4 separate regions of the Homo sapiens genome follow, and all the other regions are linked to region 1. Evidence: promoter capture Hi-C in 16 types of primary human blood cells and fetal thymus (Javierre and others, 2016). All regions are on one chromosome and are shown on one strand. The core of a region is centred on a gene start or on the middle of the fragment in contact, and the rest is flanking DNA. Distances in the headings are between cores, read along the strand shown. Region 1 holds the start of TMEM267 (transmembrane protein 267). Region 2 has its middle 77 kb from the start of FLJ32255. Region 3 has its middle 88 kb from the start of SELENOP. Region 4 has its middle 48 kb from the start of FLJ32255.

The links. The method cuts DNA at HindIII sites, captures the fragments that hold promoters and counts their contacts. A CHiCAGO score of 5 or more calls a contact.
Region 2: a fragment that was not itself captured here is called in contact with the fragment with the promoter of TMEM267 in region 1 in 1 of 17 cell types (naive CD4 T cells); the score reaches 6.0 in naive CD4 T cells.
Region 3: a contact is called between a fragment that was not itself captured here and the fragment with the promoter of TMEM267 in region 1, in 1 of 17 cell types (non-activated CD4 T cells). The highest score is 6.2, in non-activated CD4 T cells.
Region 4: a contact is called between a fragment that was not itself captured here and the fragment with the promoter of TMEM267 in region 1, in 2 of 17 cell types (activated CD4 T cells and naive CD4 T cells). The highest score is 5.6, in activated CD4 T cells.

The regions. Positions count from the first base shown.
Region 1 is chr5:43,482,420-43,485,257 of GRCh38, forward strand. TMEM267 (transmembrane protein 267) reads right to left here and starts at 1,446. Exons shown (of 3, transcript NM_022483.5): 1 at 1,403-1,446. C5orf34-AS1 (C5orf34 antisense RNA 1) reads left to right here and starts at 1,500. Exons shown (of 3, transcript XR_007058763.1): 1 at 1,500-1,582. RefSeq lists a silencer at 1,301-1,531 and enhancers at 1,477-2,320, 1,586-1,775. The HindIII fragment of the contact is 3,795 bases long and covers 1-1,845 here.
Region 2 is chr5:42,915,309-42,918,014 of GRCh38, forward strand. It overlaps the pseudogene PRELID3BP6. Among named protein-coding and RNA genes, the nearest start is that of FLJ32255, 77 kb to the right of the region's middle. The HindIII fragment of the contact is 4,686 bases long and covers 1-2,706 here.
Region 3 is chr5:42,898,824-42,901,523 of GRCh38, forward strand. No RefSeq gene overlaps it. Among named protein-coding and RNA genes, the nearest start is that of SELENOP, 88 kb to the left of the region's middle. The HindIII fragment of the contact is 1,105 bases long and covers 719-1,823 here.
Region 4 is chr5:42,943,696-42,946,628 of GRCh38, forward strand. No RefSeq gene overlaps it. Among named protein-coding and RNA genes, the nearest start is that of FLJ32255, 48 kb to the right of the region's middle. The HindIII fragment of the contact is 7,406 bases long and covers 1-2,933 here.

The sequences.
Region 1 (2,838 bases), core at 196-2,695:
TTTATTTCCTTTTCCACTTCCTATTCCTCCCCCTACAAATAAAACGGACTCCCGAACCTCCTTTTACATATTCACTTTTGTTGATAAGGTTCCTTAAGAGTAGTGATCTCTTTTAAACTTGTCATGTTTAAAAATCCAGTGTGCTCAAGGTATTTAATAAATATTCCATTTTACTAATACAAGAGATAATCACATAATAAATCCGCAGCCTATGAACTAAAGATACTGTTTGGGATAGCTTCTCTGACATAACTGACATATTATAAATTCCTCCCTATGACTCGCAGAAGCCATTTTCTGCAATGGCCAAACTTTGTCACACCCCATCCCCCTTATAGCAAATACCACTAACTTTGGGGCCTTCAGAGTATACATAACAGTACTTTTCTCCTTCCTGAATTCCACAAACATATAATTAGCTGGTCACTTTAATTATACGCTATCATGTATTGTTTGCTAATAATCTCTTAGACATTATTTCTGTCAAAACAAATAAGAGCTGATACATTCTCTAAGTAAGTGTCATCTGTTTTAACTTTCCCTCTTCCCCACCAACCTTACACATTATATGCAAAAACCCAAGGTCAAAACACGGTCCAAATTCCAGAAACCGCCTTTATTATGCTTTACCAGTAAGTCTTCTTCACTGAACTGTAGTTGCTGTAAACTTAATATATTTAATTTCTTTAATGGAAAAATATCAAAAGCAGATGCCAAATCTGATGCAACTAACTGACAAAGGAAACACAAATCTTGCTTACTTTCACTGAAACTTTTTATAGCCATCAGATGTCTGCACTTAAAATGTTTAGTTCCTATGCCCATTACGAATAAAACAAAATTCTGTATTTCAACATGTTTCAAGCCTCAGAAGTTCCCAGACATCCTTTTCTGAGTCTGGTGTGATGCAATAATTTTTCAAATGTCATTTAAAAAAATGGGCCAGGCTGCAGGGAAAGGACCATGTCACACTCTCAGCATTCAAGCCTCAAAGGCTCCGGGGCACGAAAGGCTCTTACAACCGGTTAAGGACGGCAATGGGCTCCTTCGGCACGACTCCCGGAACCCCACCCTGGGCCAGAAAAAGGCCAGGGGCGCGGAGCGTAGGCGGAGGGCTGGGGTTCTAGGGATCTAGAAAAAGCGCGAAGCCGGAGGGCGGCGCCAGGGCTCCTCGCAGACCCCAGGGCCGCGGGACGGTGCCGGCTCGTGGGTCACACGCACCCAGGAGGCTCCTGGCTCCCGCGTGGCGGCTGTTCCAGCACGCCCTCCGACCCGCAACCGGACCCTCCAGACATCAGACTCAGTGGTCCCCCACCTCCGGTCTCCCACCTCAGGACGCAGTTCCGCGGCGTCCACCCGGCCCCCTCCCCTCAGTCCCACGCAGCGGCTCAGCCATACCCACCCCGGCTTCTCTGAGTTCAATCCAGCAGCAGCTCGAGCAGCGGCTCCGCCCCTCGGTCGGAGCCATAGAGACGTCGGCTGCCGGCCAGAGTGGCCTCAGACCGCAGCGTCGGCCGAGAGGACGCCGGGATACTGGCCAGCTCCAAGTCGAAAGGAAGCGACGCATGAGTTGTTTGGTGCGGTGGGTAGATACCTCGAGTTTCTCCTCGCCCACCGTAGGCCCCGACCCCTAAAAAGGAAACTTTTGGGACGTCAGAGTGAGAGGAGAAAAGTGTCTTTTTAGTTTAGTTTTGTCAAACCTGAGGATTCGTTTTTCAGTTTAGCCGGAGCTGTGCCGCAAACGTAGCTGCCGACATCCCCACGACGCACCCAAGTGGTGGCCCGGAAGCTGGGGATAGAAAAGTGGCCTCCCCGAATGCCAGGCACACAGGCCTTACTACCAGAAGCTTGAGCTGGGAGCCTCGGCCGTCGCATCTCTAAGGTGCAGCGATACGGCCAACTTCCTTCCGCGAAGCCCTCAGGGTGGGCAACGGAGCTTTTCACCAGACTGAGGGACCGGGCGACCTGGCCGACCGGCGGCTCCTCACCGCCCCCTTGGGGATTTCTTGATAATTCTTTGCCACGATGCGGGCGGATGTTGTGGAGCTACTGTTTGTAGATCGCAGTAGCGTGACAGCACTTAATCATGACTACTAAATCCTCAGAAGTCGAAAAAGCAAGTCCATACAGAATAGTTTGACCCTAATTAAATTGCGCTTACAAGATACAGTTTGTTTACTGGGACTTTGGCTAGGTCCCATCCCGTCTCTGCCTCAGAGTGGTGGTTGCTCTTAGCACCAAGGAAATACCAGCTTGACATTTGACTCTAGGAAGCACAGGCCCAAAAGAAGAGGCCCAAGGAGGGACATTCTTCTTTCCCTTTCCTACCTACAGTTTCTCAAACCAAGTGTCAGATGGAAAGCAAGGGGTGGTATCATCGTAATTATACAGTTGACCATAGAAAATAAATTTCAATCTCAAAGTAAACTCCTAGGCCACCCCCAGAATCTTAGAGTTTCTCAATCATAGAACTCATTTCTTGTCACAGTCTTGGTTCTTAGCCAATGTAAAACACCCAACTGACAGGGAAAATTAAACACCTTTTAACTCCCACACACCTTAAATGAGAATTTAAAGTATCTTTCAGCAAATGTATTTATAATTTTGAGTGCTTTTAGCCATGTTAAGGACAAATTTTCTCCTTCTGAATGCAGTAATAATTTGGCATTACCCTTTTGGCAGTGTGGTACAAAGTCTTATAATCTAGGCTTTATGGAGCTATTGAGGAACAACATAGATGGCTTCATGCAAACCCAAACAATGTAATAGTAGTTCTTTTCTCTGTAGTCGGTCTACTGCCTGTAGATGTTTATTCCTTTTTTTTTTTTTTTTTTTTTT
Region 2 (2,706 bases), core at 37-2,536, 570 kb before region 1:
AGCGATGGACTGCGCCATTTGCTCTTTTCCTAGACTAGCTATGGCTGGGCCTAGTCAAGCCTTTCCAGGAAGAGGCTATGAAGTTCCAACCATCAACCTTGGAAGAGCTGTCTTGGAGGCAGGCAGGTCCAGAGCCCCACACGCCATGGGACCTGAACCAAGAGCAAGCCTGGGCCTGGGCGCTGGATAACTTCCCTGTGCAGAGCCGCCACTCCTGCCAATGCCATCAGCTCTACGGGAGCTCTGCTCCGGGCTGGCTGCTGCACTGCGATTCCACCGGGCACGCAGCCCTGCCCGGAGATGAGAGGGGCCAAAAACAGCCTCGAGACTCTCATGTCGATGAGTCAATGGCTGAAACCACAGACGGGCTCCAGTCCCCTCAAGAAGACACAGATGCTACCGACGGTGAGATCCAAAGCGGCCTGAAGCTGTCTGGAGATGCCAGCGCCTGTGGAGGTTGAAGTACACACGCCCAGGGCACCCGCTGCAGCCCAGGCCGCCTCCGGCAGCTGCTGAAAACCTAGGATTCCATCAGGAAGGAACCCGGAAAGGAGAGGAACCCCAGCCTTTCTGCAGGCCTGCAGCACGACCTGCTTCAACTGCTGCCCTGGAAGGAGTCCGAGGCACTCCAATGGGGACCCTCATGCTGTCCCTGTGGACATTTGCACTGGAACTGTGCCTGCACTCATAACAGCCTTGATGTCTGTGTTGTGGAGATCTTTCCTTAATTTGTTTTTCCTCTCCTGAGCGTCCTAAACATTTTTCATTTAGAACAACTCTCTTCATGGAATGAATAATATGCAATGTGCTAAGGAACTCTTCTTTCAGATGTATTCAAAATTGCTGTGGTTCTTCCATAGAAACTGTACACATTGATTAAATCCTTTCCCTATTCTCCACCCGTGAAATTGATTTTGAGCTGGTAAATCAAGATTGGTATAGATGGGCCTGAAGCAGACAGAAAGGGGACAGGGACGCAGCTCAGAGCTTTTTTTTTTTTTTTTTTTTTTTTTTTTGAGCTGGGGTCTCGCTAGTCTTCCTGGGTAGCCCAGGCTGGTGTGCAGTGGCATGATCATGCTTTAGTTTAAATTCCAGGGGGCCTTTGAGGAGCTGTGGATACTAGCACGGTGGAAGGGGACAGCTGGGTGGATCACTTGCTGGAGTTGCTTCAAAACTGACCCTGGTCCTCCAGATGAAGGCAGGGAACAGACATTAACAGTGTTCTTTAAATCAGCAGTCCCCAACCCTTTTGGCACAAGGGACTGGTTTTATAGAAGACAATTTTTCCATGGATGGGGGGTTGGTAGACAGGGATAGTTTGGAGATGAAGCTGTTCTACCTCAGATAATCAGGCATCAGATTCTCAGGAGGAGCGCACAAGGTAGATCCCTTGCATGTGCAGTTTACAGTAGGCTTCGTGCACCTACGACAATCTAATGTCTCTGCTGATCTGACAAGAAGTGGAGCTCAGGTGGTAACGCTGGGCTGCTGGCCACTCCCATCCTGCTGTGCCACGGGGCTCTTAATGCTAACGGTAGAGGGTGTCCAGGTTCTTGGCGTCTTGAAGAAAGAATTGGACAAAATGCGCAAGCAAAGCAAGGACGGAATGAAGGGATTTATTGAAAACAAAAGTACACTCCACAGTGTGGTAGTGGGCCTGCGCATAGGGGCTCAAAGTTACAGAGTTTTTGTGAGTTTAAATACCCTCTATTTGGGGTACGCCCTATGTAAATGAAGAGGATGAAGTAAAGTTTCAAAGTCATTTACTGGGTGTATGCCCTATGGAGAGGATATTTCCTGTTATAGCTGAAGTGTGAATGGGCCTTATGTTCCCGGCCTCCAGACCCTATTTTCCTGCCTCACTAACAGGCCAGGGTCCAGTACAGGCACGCTGTCTGGGGAGTTGGGGACCCCTCTTTTAAATAGTTTAAAGTTTACATTGTAATAAGGGCTGGAAGAGGGGGTTGGGATGTCCTTCACATGAGGCCGATGGTGCCTGCCTACTGCGAAGCTGATTGGCATGCTGGGGGTGCAGTGGGGCAGGTGTAGCCTCTTTGCCTCATTTTCCCCTGCACTGCCCAGACATCTCCTGGACTGCCTGCATCATCAAGATCTGGACTTCAGAGCACGTCTTTGATCACCTGTGGGAAATTGTTACAACAGTTGCAATGCACAAATACCCAAAAGCCCTATGAACCAGGGCATGGTGTGGGTTGATGTGTTGGACACACATATAGATCCCAATGAAGAGTTGCACAGCCACAGACTTCTCTGCACAGAGTGGGAACTACAAGTCTCTTATTGGTACAGAAAGAACCAAAACATATGTGCTAGAATATTCTGTAGTTAATCCTATAGAGAAAACAATGGAACTTAAATCTACTAATATTTCACTTAAAATATGGTTTCATTAGGTGAGAGACTTATATACAAACCACATCCTCAGGACCCAGAAAAAAATTATTTTGACTCAAGAAGCCATAATCAGTGAAAGGAGGCAGCCTCAGCAGTTATCTTGAAGGACTGATGGCAAGTAGGATATCTTCAAATGCTATCAAAGGCACGGAAGCACTGGAATGGGTCATACATAAATTACATGTTAAAAAATGAAGAATTGATGGCTTTCACAAGAGGAGGCATAAGAACTCCGGTGGTGGCTGCAGCAGCCTTCGTAGTGAATTGATAATGAATGTGTGTAGACAAGTA
Region 3 (2,700 bases), core at 21-2,520, 580 kb before region 1:
AAATGAAAAATGTTCAGGACGTTCAGGAGAGGAAGAACAAATTAAAGAATGATCTCCACAGCAGAGGCCTCAAGGCTCTTATGCGTGCAAGGAACAGTTCCAGTGTAAAAGTCCGCAGCGACGCCATGAGGGCACCCACTGGAGTGCCTCGGGCTCCTTCCAGGGCAGCAGTTAAGCAGGTCGTGTCGCAGGCCTGCAGAAAGGCTGGGGTTCCTCTCCTTTCCGGGTTCCTTCCTGATGGAACCCTGGGTTTTCAGCAGCTTCCGGGGCGGGGTGGGAGGGTCCTGAACTGCAGAGAGCGCCCTGGGCATGTGTACTTCCACCTCCGCAGGCGCTGGCATCTCCAGGCAGCTTCAGGCCGCTTTGGAACTCACCGTCGGTAGCATCTGCGTCTTCTTGAGGGGACTGAAGACCGTCTGTGGTTTCAGCCATTGACTCCTCAAAATGGGAGTCTGGAGGCCGTTTTTGGCCCCTCTCATCTCCGGGAAGGGCTCCGTGCCTGGTGGAGGCTCAGTGCAGCAGCCAGCTCGCAGCAGAGCTCCCACAGAGCTGATGGCATTGACAGGAGTGGCGGCTCAGCACAGGGAAGTTATCCAGTGCCCAGGCCCAGACTTGCTCTCGGTTCAGGTCCCATGGCATGTGGGGCTCTGGACCTGCCTGCCTCCAAGACAGCTCTTCCAGAGTTGATGGATGGAACTCCATAGCCTCAGCCTCCCAAAGCTTGACCAGGTCCGGCCAAGTAGCTAGTCTAGGAAAAGAGCAAATGGCTCAATTCATCCCTGACTGTGGGTTTTTATAGCATTCTGTCTTGTACAGGAAGTCGGATACCAGAATCCAATCATGTGGGGATTAACACTTATTACCTTGCTAATTGCTTTAAACCATGATAGGGTTGTGGTGGAAAGTTTATCATTCCAGAAGGCACTATTGAAACTCCTTGGGTTTCTATTGGATCAGGCTGTAATAGGGTGGGGCAGGGTGTGAGAGAATGGGTCCAGTTATTGGCAGTTTTCTTATTTCAATAAGAAATTGGCAGTTTTCAGTATTTCACAATTTGATGAGATGTTAGATGTACATCTCATATAGAAATGCTTTATCAAATTAAGGGAATTTGCAATTTCTAATTTGCTAAGATGACTTTTATATTAATGAAGCAGGGTTGAATTTTTTAAAAGATTTTTTGTATCTACTGAGATTATCGTATATTTTTTCTGCTGTTAATGTGGAGAATAATAGAGATTGATTTTCAAACGCCAAACCAAAGTTGAGTTCCTGATAAACTCCATTAGATTATGATGCATTTTTTTAAAGTATATTACTGGATTCAGAATGTTAACATATAGTTGATTTGGCCCTGTGGTTTGGGAAAGATATTGGATGATGAAAAAATTGAAGAGGGGGCACTGGAATGACGCACGAAAAGGTCGTATAAATACTTAAACTTGTTGGTATTTAAAAAGGACTTTCTATGTAGTTGTACCACTCAGTCAAAGACTGTTTAAATGTAGGGAACATGTCTCATTTGCAGCATATCGAGAGTCAAGATTGGCCTGAGTCATTCTATTTTTGAAGGTACTCTGAAACAAATTTTAATACAGAGTGAATTTTTGAGGATTCCAACAGCAGGGGAAAAACAGTGAAGTACATAAGGTGAGCAGAAAGGTATGTTTTAATGGCCTGGCTTCCCCCAAAAAACATTACTGAAATAAACACTCATGTGAGATTGCTTTATTCAAGAGTGCTGTCCTTAGGAAGTGGGAGTGAGAAGAAAAAGGAGAGGGTCAGGGATGAGCATATTCAATGCTGTGCTTCCTAGTTGTTCAAGCTTAGTATCAAGTATGACCAGAGGTGACTTTATTATTAAACCAATAAAGTTTAACTGTAAGGCAAACTTCCAAAGAGTTTGTAAAACATTTGTCTTAAAACATTTTTATAATTCTCTTAAACAGAATCCCCTACTACTTGTATGAACACTGACTCCACAAATTGGAAACCGCTGTGAACACTAATGGTTGTTTGATCTCATGAAACCATCTTCTGAGAGGCCTTATGAATAACTGCTTCTCAGCACAGTTCACTTGGGAGGAAGAAAAGGACAGAATATATCCACTGTTGGGAGATAACACAATTCTCACAACAAAAACCCCAGTGTACCAAACAGAAGAGGCAGGGAACACTAGCATTCAGTTGGTATTCACAGATTTTCATGCATTTAAGTTAGCATGACAACTACAAAGTTAGGCCACATCTCATACATTTTCAGCAGAGCAGGGGGAAGCAGGATGAATTCCTTTCTCTCTTCAAAGAAACAGAGAACACCTTACAATAGTATTTTGTCATCTGCTAAGAGACCCTCAGCTCATTCTGAAAGTACTTTTAAGAAACATTTACATATTATTATTTGTCCTGTGACCATGGATATATTGATATATTGCAAAAACTTGAGATTCAATTTTATCTTCAGATGGACAAATCTAAATTCAAATGGTTCAACTATGGATTAAGACTCACCATATTAAATGTGATATTACTGGTCAATTTCTTTTATGGGTTTTAGGAAAAGAAAACACTCATATAGTATAAGCAGAAAACTATTATGGGATAAAATTCACTTAAAATATGATAAAAATGTGTAGACATAGATTTTAGACTGAATGTCAGGGAATGATTTTCTGAACCACATTGCAAACTGGCTCCCTA
Region 4 (2,933 bases), core at 408-2,907, 540 kb before region 1:
TTCAATTTCTAAAGCAAAGTGTTTAACTAGATAACTTCATCCCAGATGATAGGACTTTACGTGAATCTCATTAATTCCATGTCTTGATGTAATTTGCTCCTAAGATTAAGGTTCCCACCCACCTCCCTGTAATCTAATTTGGACCGCTCATGAGACCAGAAGAGTATAAAAACGCAAAAGATGTTGATTTCTGAATCCCAGATACCCGGTGTCAGCTGGTGAAAGAAGGACGCGATGAAGTTGCTGTCTCCCCTCGGAGTTTGGCAGGCCCGGGATTCCACAAAGGAGTAGGCGCGGCCAGCCGCCTCCAGCCCTGAGCTCAGTAAATTCGGTGTCCTGAATGCTCCCTTCCTGTCCTTACCACTGCGAGCTCTCTTGGGACAGCTTTCTAGGTTCCACTGCGACCTACTTTCCGCTCCCTGAGTGCTTCTTTGCTGAAACTGCAGGCGAAAAGATCTCTTTCCCAGACCGCAGCGCACTTTGAGAAGGGGCTCAAAGTCGCCCGCTCTGAATCCGGCACCGGCAAATAGGAGTAGCCGCAGGCGCCCTCTGGAGAGCTGGAGACTGCAGAGGGTCCCAACGGACGCCTGCCCCCGCAGCATCCCTCTCAACTCGCCCCTTGCTTCGTGGACAGACGACTGGGGCCGGAGACGTCCGTCCGAGGAGACCTTTCAGAGTGTCAGCCTACTACTGTCCCGCCGAAGCCACCAACCGAAGTTCCAAGACTGCTGGCTGCAGATTGCATGCGCTTGAGGGCAGACGCCCTAAGAAGGTGTCCACCGCCGCCTTTGATGTCCTGAGCCCTGAGATTTTCTCTGAGATCCTTCCATTGACGATCGTCTTGTAACAGATGATGTTACAGTAACACCTGAGTTCTCTCAAACGCGATGGAAGAAGTTTTGCCTTCAAATCAGTTTGTGCCATTTTCTTTCCCCTTCTCAATAAAATTGTACACAAATGTGGCCGGGCGCGGTGGCTTACGCCGGTAATCCCAGCAATTTGGGAGGCCCAGTCGGGTGGATCACTTGAGGTCAGAAGTTCGAGAACAGCCTGACCAACATGGTGAAACCCCGTCGCTACTAAAAATACAAAATAAGCCAGGCATGGTGACGCATGCCTGTAATCCCAACTACTCGGGAGGCTGAGGCAGGAGAATCGCTTGAACCCTGAGGCAGAGGTTGCAGTGAGCCGAGATGGTGTCATTGCACTCCAGCCTGGGCAACAAGAGCAAAACTCTGTCTCAAAAATATAAAATAAAATAAAATAGGACACAAATGTTAAATTTCTGTTACCTGGGTTCCTGCTGATGAAGGTAAGGACGGGGCATAGGAGCGGGGCGGCTGGTTGCTGGTGCCAGGACTGGCACGGGACTCTGGGTCGCCTAGGTTTGCTGATTGCAGGGCAGAAGTAGTGTGTCTTATCCAGAGACTGGAGGGAAGGATCAGCCAGGAGTTGTGCATGGCAGGTGACTCACAGGCTGGGCCTACAGGAAATGTGGTTAACAGGCAGCAGGCCTGAGAACTTAGTGCAGGAAATTCTCTTGTTCCAAGTCCCTGGAACTTTTCCCTCTGAGGGTTTGCACTGTTATATCTTGAGAGCTTGCTAAACTCACTCATGAGTGCTGGAACTTTTCTTTTAGACTCCTTAAGATTTTCTACATAGACTCATATTCTGCAGGTATGGATATTTTCATTGTTTCGCTTCCAATTTTTATGATTTTTAACACATTTTCTCACCTTATTGCACTGGCAAACAATTCCAGTACATTGTTGAATAGAAATGGTGAGAGTGGATATTTGTGCCTTGTTCCTGATTCCATGGGAAAAACGTTGAGTCTGTCATTATTACATACCACGTTTGCTATAGGTTTTTGTAGATTTTTTTTGGTTGAGGAAATTCCCTCTGTTCCCATGATGCTGAGAGTTGGTTTTTAAATTTTAAATCATAAATGGTATAGATTTTAAGTGCTTTTTGTGCATCATTTGATAGGATTATACGGTGTTTCTCATCTAGGCTATCAATAAGGCAAATTATATTATTTGACTTTCGAGCATTAAACTAGCCCTCCATCTGGAATAATCTTACTTGGGCGTGGTATTGTTCTTTATTTTTTTTGAGACGGAGTCTCGCTCTGTCGCCCAGGCTGGAGTGCAGTGGTGCGGTCTCGGCTCACTGCAAGCTCCGCCTTCCGGGTTGACGCCATTCTCCTGCCTCAGCCTCCCAAGTAGCTGGGACTACAGGCACCCACTACCACCCCCGGCTAATTTTTTGTATTTTTTTTTTTTAGTAGAGACAGGGTATCACTGTGTTAGCCAAAATGGTCTCGATCTCCTAACCTCGTGATCCGCCGGCCTCGGCCTCCCAAAGTGCTGGGATTACAGGCGTGAACCACTGCGCCTGGCCCAAGGCATGGTATTGTTCTTTAACATATATTTCTGACTGCCATTTGTTAGTATTTTGGTGAGGATTTCTGCATCTATGCTTAGGTGCAATATTGGTCAGTAGCTTTCTCTTAGCGTACTGTGTGTGCCAGGAAAGTGCTGATCTCATAAAATAAATTGGGAAGTATTCCATATTCTTTTATTTACTAGAATAAGTCATGTAGAATTCATCTTATTTATTCTTTAAATATTTGGTAAAAAATAGTCAATGAAATTGTAAGAAACTCTAGGTTTGTTTTTTGGAAGATTTTTTGACCATGAATTCAATATCATTAACGATGACTGTGGATCTTGCAGGGTTGATCCATTCTATCTAACTTGTTGAATTTATGAGTATAGAGTTGGTTTTAGATCATTTAAAAAAGTTACCATTGTGGGCCAGGTGGGGTGGCTCACTCCTGTAATCCCAGCACTTTGGGTGGCCAAGGTGAGTGAATCACTTGAGGCCCGGAGTTCAAGACCAGCCTGGCCAACATAGCAAAACCCCATCTC